Linked DNA regions of Homo sapiens: region 2 is linked to region 1. The links are contacts of gene promoters, found by promoter capture Hi-C in human tissues and cell types (Jung and others, 2019). All regions are on one chromosome and are shown on one strand. Each heading gives the region's core, a stretch centred on a gene start or on the middle of the fragment in contact. The rest is flanking DNA. Distances are from core to core; before and after follow the strand shown.

What was found. Contacts are between HindIII fragments. The study calls those that stand out against the background at their distance.
Region 2: a fragment that was not itself captured here is called in contact with the fragment with the promoter of C3orf49 in region 1 in 2 of the 25 tissues and cell types used here (heart right ventricle and mesendoderm cells).

Annotation. Positions count from the first base shown.
Region 1 is chr3:63,816,703-63,820,697 of GRCh38, forward strand. C3orf49 (chromosome 3 open reading frame 49) reads left to right here and starts at 2,597. Exons shown (of 7, transcript NM_001355236.2): 1 at 2,597-2,894. The coding sequence starts at 2,770. RefSeq lists a silencer at 1,944-2,063. The HindIII fragment of the contact is 1,936 bases long and covers 1,372-3,307 here.
Region 2 is chr3:63,679,869-63,684,097 of GRCh38, forward strand. No RefSeq gene overlaps it. Among named protein-coding and RNA genes, the nearest start is that of SNTN, 29 kb to the left of the region's middle. The HindIII fragment of the contact is 4,842 bases long and covers 125-4,229 here.

The sequences.
Region 1 (3,995 bases), core at 1,347-3,846:
CTTATCACACACATCTACCTCTTTGCTCCAGCCACCCTAGCTTTCTTCCACATTTTCTTTTCTTTTCTTTTTTTTTTTTTTTTTTTGTGAGACAGAATCTTGCTCTGTCGCCCAGGCTGGAGTGCAGTGGCGCGATCTCGGCTCACTGCAAGCTCTGCCTCCCGTGTTCACGCCATTCTCCTGCCTCAACCTCCTGAGTAGCTGGGACTACAGGCACCCGTTACCACGCCCGGCTAATTTTTTTGTATTTTTAGTAGAGATGGGGGTTTCACCACGTTAGGCAGGATGTTCTCGATCTCCTGCTCTCGTGATCCACCCACCTCGGCCTCCCAAAGTGCTGGGATTACAGGCGTGAGCCATCGCACCTGACCGCTTTCTTCCACATTTTCAAAGACACTGGGCTTCTTCCACCTCCGGGCTTTGGCACATGCTGTTTCATCTGCCTGGGTCACACAAATTTTCACACGATTGGCTCTTTTCCCCGTTCAGCATTCAGGACCAATGACCTCATTGGACAGGCTTTCCTAACGCTCCATCTAAAGTCACTCCTCATCCTCAGTCACTCTATCCCATCATCCTCTTTTACTTTTTTCATAACATTTACTACCAGCTGAAATTAAAATGTTCATTTCCTTGTTACCTGCATCTCCCACAGCATATTAAGTTATATGAGTTCAGAGATTTTGTGTATGTTGTTCACTGCAGTATCCCTGGTGTCTAGGGTGGTGTCTAGGGTGGTGCCTGGGAACCACTAGGCATTCAAATATTTGTTAAATAACTGAATGACTCAAAGAAGCTTGGGAGGTAGCAGTTATTACTCCTGTTTTACGAACGAGAAAATGAAGGTCCAAAGAGGTTTTCGTTACCCGCCCAAGGACCCATAAGCTTGGAAGGGGTAGATCTAGAATGTAAATCCAGACACAGCTCAAAATTGATGTCTCTCTATACTCTAACTCTTTCCCCACCCCCTTCCCACTCCTTCTAGTTCTGTCATCTGCTTCAGGACTCCTTTGGGAACCTACAAGTTTTGTCACAGATGCCACAGCAGCAAGTGTTTCAGCCTATTACATACACACATACATGCAGACATGCACACACAGAGACATGTACATAGACACCCATGCACAAATAAAAAACAGCTGTCTTTCCTAGCATAAAATTCATCTCATTCATCTAGATAATTGATGAAATACAACAGAATTAAGGCAGGAGTGCCAATAATTGCATGAAAAATATTGCCCTGTTGCTAAAGAAAATATTCATGTATTCATTTATTCAAGCACCTATTATTTATTGTGCTCTGAGGATGCCAACAGATGAGGAAAAACAGACCAGGGAGGAGCATATGTCCATTTGGCCAAGGCATATTAGATATGCTCTACTTCAGCGTTTCTCAAATAAGGGACAGAGGAACATCTGCACCCACTCTCCTAGAATATGGATTCCTGGGTCTCATTCCCTGCTGAAGCGGAATTTCTATTTCACTTGAATTTTGCCATAAAACTATGGCTTGGGCACTATGAGTTGTCCCACTTTAGGGATGAGAAAACAAGCATGGGTGGGTTAAAATGAATTGGCCAAGGTCACATAGCTAAGCTAGAAATGAGAACTCATGCATAATTCCCAAATCCACTCTCTTAGCCCCTTAACATTATACACTTCATTCTAGACCATTTTAAAGCTCTTTTCCCCAGTACTGAAACATACAAGACCCTCACTACTCCAAGTGCAGTCTGGCATCATCAGCGTCACCTGCGGGTTTGTTAGGAGTGCAAATTCTTGGATCCCAGCCCAGATGTACTGTATCGAAATCTGCATCTTAAAAAGACCTCCAGGAAGTTTGTGTGCACTTGAAAGCTTGAGAAGTATGCTCCAGATTATTGATTAATGCAAACACAGAAAGCAGAGTAATTCTTGTAACTCCCAGAACCTTTCTAGAGGAGTTTTTCTTGTTAAGCATCTAGTTATTTGACTGAACAACTCAAACCGCGAGAGGGTAACAGGAATAAATCCTAGTGTCTGCTGCCACCTTGTGGTGAGAAGTTCCATCACAGGCAGAATTCGCTCTTCACCACGAAATAAATGGGGCAATGTTGGAAGGGAGGGGTGGATCAGGTCCTCAATTTAGCAATGTACTTTGAGAGACCACTGCAAAATTCCAAGATGTAATGAAAACCACCCTTGGGGTACATTTTGAGATGTCCAAACAACAACTGGCCTTGTCATATGTGTCCCACAGGACACAGAGAACATTCACCAGCTGTAACTGAGAGATCTAACAGAAGCTCAACTTGTGTTAATCAGCGTATCGTTGGTATTCCTATAGGTCCCTACCACTTCAGAGTTCAAATACGCACTTCTGAATGTGGTGGTCAATTAGTGTGTGGGTGTTTTTTGTTGTTGTTGTTGTTGTTTGATTTTTTTTTTCTATCCAAATGCCAGCATTGAGGCAATCAGATCATCATTTCTGTATTTGCCTTGTTCAAGAATCTGTGAAGTGTTCCACAAAGGTCCATGGAATTTCACACAGCTCTGTCAAATACATCACTGGTGACCTCTGTGAAGTTGTAAACAGGGCCAGTCCCACAAATAATGTCTCTAACACCTGGAAGGGAATAAGGGAAAGACTCTAAAAATTTCCTACATATTTTATTCCGAATAGCCCACACCTTGACAGTACATTCAGTCACTGGATGATTTTGTATTGAAGTCTGTAAGTTCAAGAACTAAAACAATCCAAAACGGCTACTACAGGTGAAGTTGAGAGCAATGGCCCAACCTCAGCTGTATCTACCAGAACCCTTTAAGATTGCCTACAGAAAAGTTGGACAGTGCCGAAGATTCCAGCAACTCAAGAAGAAAAATGGCTCATTCAAAAGGAAGGGGATAGAAAGGTAACAGAGATTCATTTCCTTTTCTGTCAAATGAGAGTCTTTGGGTTTGGCATAGTGGCATGTCCTTTTAAGCATTGCATTTAGGAATGAGGACTCTGGATGGATTGGCGGGGAGGGTACTGCGTTGGATCAAGAAATCTAGTGTGACAATGTAAGCTTCATTTTATGATCAGAAACATCTTAATTGTAACAGGGAAAACCTTTCCTTTCCACTCGAAATTAAGTTTCAATGTGGCATAGGAGACTAAAATAAGTTCTGATCCTATGTTGATATTTCAGCATCAGAATTTTGGACATCTCACATCCCGTGAAAATACTATTATTTTGAAAAGTCATTAGTGCATTCTTCGAAATAGGTCCACGATCAGTGCTTTCTTTCTCCTATCCCAGCAATTTGGGCTGCTGAAATATGTACTAATCACATTTCACTATGGACACATTGTTTAATGTAACGTTAAAACTGCCTTAGACTTGCTATTTTTTTGCCAATGACAAAACCATATAGACAGGTATGAAACATCCAAAATATAATATATTTTAATTTGGAAAGTCAGTGTGGTGATTTATTTTCCAATTTCTTTGGGCTTCTCTCTTACCAGGTCCATGGGCTATAGTTCAGACATGTAGAAGTGAGGTGTTTTAATGAGTCCTGGAAGCATCAAAGACCAAGCTTGTGAACTTCCATGGACAAAATAAAATACTGCAGAGATTTCCACTTTCAATGAAAAGTAGGCACTCCGGGGGAAGCAATACAACCAAATAAATTCAGTACCAACACAAAAATATTTAAAAACTTAAGAAGGGGAGGGTTCTGCTCATATCAGAAATTGCAGCAGTGTGTTCCTAGGCTCTGGAGCTAAATCACCTTTGTTAATTATGTTCTAGATAGATTGGGGATGAGAGTGGGGAGGATGGGAATGGGAAACACCTTCTAGAGATTCTGAGACCACTTAGAACTGGGCTTTTAACATGGGTGGTCTTCAAAATTCCTGAATCTCCTGAAACTGTATTTGCATTGTTCTGTGTCACAGTATGTGTATGTGTGTACATGTTTATAGTAGTAGAATCACTTAAAAATTAAATTATTATTAAAGGAGTCTC
Region 2 (4,229 bases), core at 1,296-3,795, 140 kb before region 1:
TGCAGTGTGTCAACTCCCAACCCACCTTCAAAGTTCCTGCATGGAGTTCCTTAGACTAAAGATCTGATGTGAGCCCAAAAGCCTGTTTCTCCTGTCCTTAAAAGTGCAGTCAATAGAGAAGGAGGACTAAAAGAAGAACCAAAAATGTAAGAAGAAGGGCACCATGTGGAAATTACACCTTGGTAGCAATCTGGTGGATAGTAGTTGCAGTTTTGTTTTGTTTTGTTTTTTACTAGTATCTTTGTGGCTTTGGGGGTGGGGCAAGGGGAAGATATGTGCTCATTATAAACAAAAGTCAAGCAAACAGAAAAGCAAAAAAAGTACATTATTATTATTCCAAAGTCCACTATTCAGAAGTAACCATTATTAGCATTTGGAGATTAAGAGTCTAGGGAAACTAAAAGGAACTAGGGGTCCAAGGAGAAATAAATGCTCAATTTGAGAGCAGCGCCAAGGAAGTACAAGATGAGACTGGAATATTTTGTGCCAGAAAGAAAAGAAGTGCTCAAAAAGTAAATAAATAAAGGGGTATTTCATGAGGACACAGCGGGCAGCTGCATGGGCCTCCTGATGGCCAGATCTGAGACAATTCTGGCATCAAAATAACTATAAACAATTCAAAATAAGAATGCAGGCCAGGCGCGGTGGCTCACGCCTGTAATCCCAGCACTTTGGGAAGCTAAGGCAGGCGGATCACCTGAGTCAGGAGTTTGAGACAAGTCTGGCCAACATGGTGAAACCCCATCTTTACTAAAAATATAAAAATTACCTGGGTGTGGTGGCAGGCATCTGTAGTCCCTGTTACTCCAGAGGCTGAGGCAGGAGAATCACTTAAACCCGGGAAGTGGAGGTTGCAGTGAGCCGAGATCCTGCCACTGCACTCCAGCCTGGGCAACAGAGCAAGATTCCATTTGAAAAAAAAAAAAAAAAAAAAAAAAAAAAAGAATGCATGGGTCCACACTAAAAATAAACAGATAAAAACCAATATATATTTATACCAAAATATGCATATGCTTATGTATTATATGTGTGTATATAAACATATTATATACTATATATGTGCATGTATACATGTTTTCCCTTCTCACATATATATGCTCAATCAAATGTTTGAACTGACAGCAGCTCTCAAGAAAATCTATTCCAATTTATTTAAAGTTATTTTTTATATATCTTGTTACATGAATATTCAGCAAATTTTAGATTATTCTCACGTTATCCTGTTCTTCACAATGACTTCCTATTTCCTCAAGGACTGTGTTAGGCTATCAATGGATTGGTGAAGAGACTGTTTCTTTAAACTGTACATTTCTCAAAAGGTTTTTTTTTTCAAAACTGATAAATTGAACCTTATCAAAATTTTAAAATTTTGCTCTTTGAAAAACAACATAAAGAAGGCAGAATGGCAAGCGACAGAACATATTCACAATCCATGTGTCTGACAGAGAACTTGCATCTCAAATGTGTGAAGACCTCTTACAACAGGAGAACAAGAAAAGAAGCTATCCAACTGAAAGAAAAATGGACAAAGATTTGAACAGATATTTTTATCAAATAAGATATTGAGATAGACAATAAGCACATGAAGAGAAGCTTGGCATGAGTTATCTCAAAGGTATTCTTGAACCCTAAAATACTGTGCTTCACCCTTGCTGGAATAGTCACTCAGAATTTCTTGGAAGTGCTGAGTGCTTCATTAATCTCCCACACATTGTTCCCTGCCTTCTGATTAAATGCTGCTGTCTTGACTTTATCATTCAGACCTAAACAAGTTGAGCATATAGCAGGGTTTACATGCAGATTTGCCATCCTGGAGATTGAGCAAATTAAAATGTTTAAGTGTCAGTGGCCTGGTGTTGAATCTCATACAATTCTGGCTTCATTTGGATGGGTGGTCTGGGCTAAATCTAACCCAGGACTCTGGAATCAAATTCATCCACCCTTTCTGCTTAGCCATTCTGCCAGCTTTTTCCCTTGGAGATGGAGACTGGTTATGGAAATCAGATTTTTTGCTTCTTCTAAACATGCAGACTCATAGTTCAAACTTGTCATTTGTGATTCTATGATAAAGAAAAAAATAAGCTGAGAGGAAGGAAGACATTATCATTTCTGAACTTGACTTGAAGCTGACTTAATTCATCCCAAGCTACGTCTAAGAATAATAGCAATTCCTCATTAGATACCAATTAAAATAAACCTCTCTTATCAAGATGGGATGACGGTTGAGGGGATCTGGTCATTTAAACAGAATGGGTTATTGAGAGTCAGCCTTTGAAATGAAAAGTAGGGATGGTAGTCCTTCGAAATTGTGGACAAAGTTTTTTTCTATTCCTGCATGTAATAGCAGCATCCAACATTTACTGAGAGCTTACTATATGCCTGGCACAGTACTAAACATTCTGTTTAATCCTTTAACAAACCTCTGGTTTAGAAACTATCTCATTTTCATTTTACAGATTAAGAAGCAGAGGCTCAAACAGGTTAAGTAATCTGTCCAAAAAACAGAGCTGTTAACTAGCTGGACTGTGGTTCAAACTCAAGTGAGTTGATTCCCTTGCATTTTCCTAATTTTTTTCCAAAACATTAATTTGTTTACAAACTTTAAAGATCTTTAATTCATCTAAAATTTAATTAGGAACATGATGTGAAGTGAGACATAAATATTTTGTTTTCTGAAAATGCAATCACAATTTAAAATGATTTTTTTAAACAACTTAATATAACGGAGAGAAAAATACACATGACATGATAAGTAAAAAATGGAAGCCTGGGCGAGGTGGCTCACACCATTAATCCTAGCACTTTGGGAGGCCGAGGCAGGCGGATCATCTGAGTTCAGGAGTTCGAGACCAGCCTGGCCAACATGGTGAAACCCTGTCTCTACTAAAAATACAAAAATTAGCCGGGCGTGGTGGCAGGCACCTGTAGTCCCAGCTACTTGGGAGGCTGAGGCAGGAGAATCTCCTGAACCCGGGAGGCAGAGGTTGCAGTGAGCCAAGATCATGGCATTGCACTCCAGCCTGGGGGACACAAGCGAGACTCCGTCTCAAAAAAAAAAAAAAAAAAAAAAAAAAAAACAACCAGAAGGGAAACTAAACTATATACACAGTATAAGTAACTGCATTAAGTACAAAATATGTATAGCCACTGATATGACATCCATTGTACATCTACATGGAAACATGACACTGATGAAGTTGAAGGAAGAGTCTGAAATCAGAAATCTAGCATTAGACTGCTTAGGTGGGTCTGAATCCCACACCTACCTCTAACTCTCTCTGGATGGCCTTGTGCAAATTACTTAACCTTGCTGTGCTGGTTTCTCATTTAGAAAATGTGGATAATATTACTTATCTTGTGAAATGGCTGAAAAGCTTAAGTAAGTCAATCCATGCAAAACAGCATAGTGCTTAACACTAAAAAACACTGCACCTATAAATATGCAAAAATATTGATAGTTCTAATCACTGAATGGTGTAATTATATGTATTTTAATTTTTTTCATTTAAATGTTCAAATTGAAATTTTCCACATTGTTCACAATGGTTTGTTTTGTTTGTTTGGTTTTTATACTCAGGGGAAAAGATGGTTAATTTTTTCAAACTCTGGGTCTTAAGTGTGTCAGTAATGCCAAAATATTCTAAAATCAAAAACTAAGCCCCATACAAACTCCCTTTGGGGATGCGCCTTTGCGGAGAGAACCCCCATGCCCCCCTCATAGAAAACAAGCTCCTCATTTCCATAAGCTGATAACACAGGAAGCATTAGAGCAAGGATTCAGCAAAAAATAGAATCCTGAAATAATAAATTGGAAGTATTGGGCATTGTGAAAACAAGAACCAATAAATGTAAATAACTCCAAGGTAAATGATTTCTTCAAGTCCCTGAGGTTCTGTAAGAGTTGGAAATATGTTATATTGCATTATAATTTATAATTGGATTTTGAAGTCTGTTCAGTAACAGGTCTAGTAACAGGGCTGGGAATTAATCCTCAATTCATACCTCATTATATTGCTGCAAATATCGCCAAACTTGACTCCACATGAGACAGACCTTCATCTATATAAACAAGGGGGCCAGCCAGGCCCATAGTACTCTAATACAGGTACTTTCTTATATATGGGGAACTGTTGGGATGGAAAGCTGAATTATTCAAAATAATGCAGTTCCCTTGCTAAACTTCACGGAGCTGTAGACGAAGCTAATGAAGGAAAGATTTGTCTGTGTTT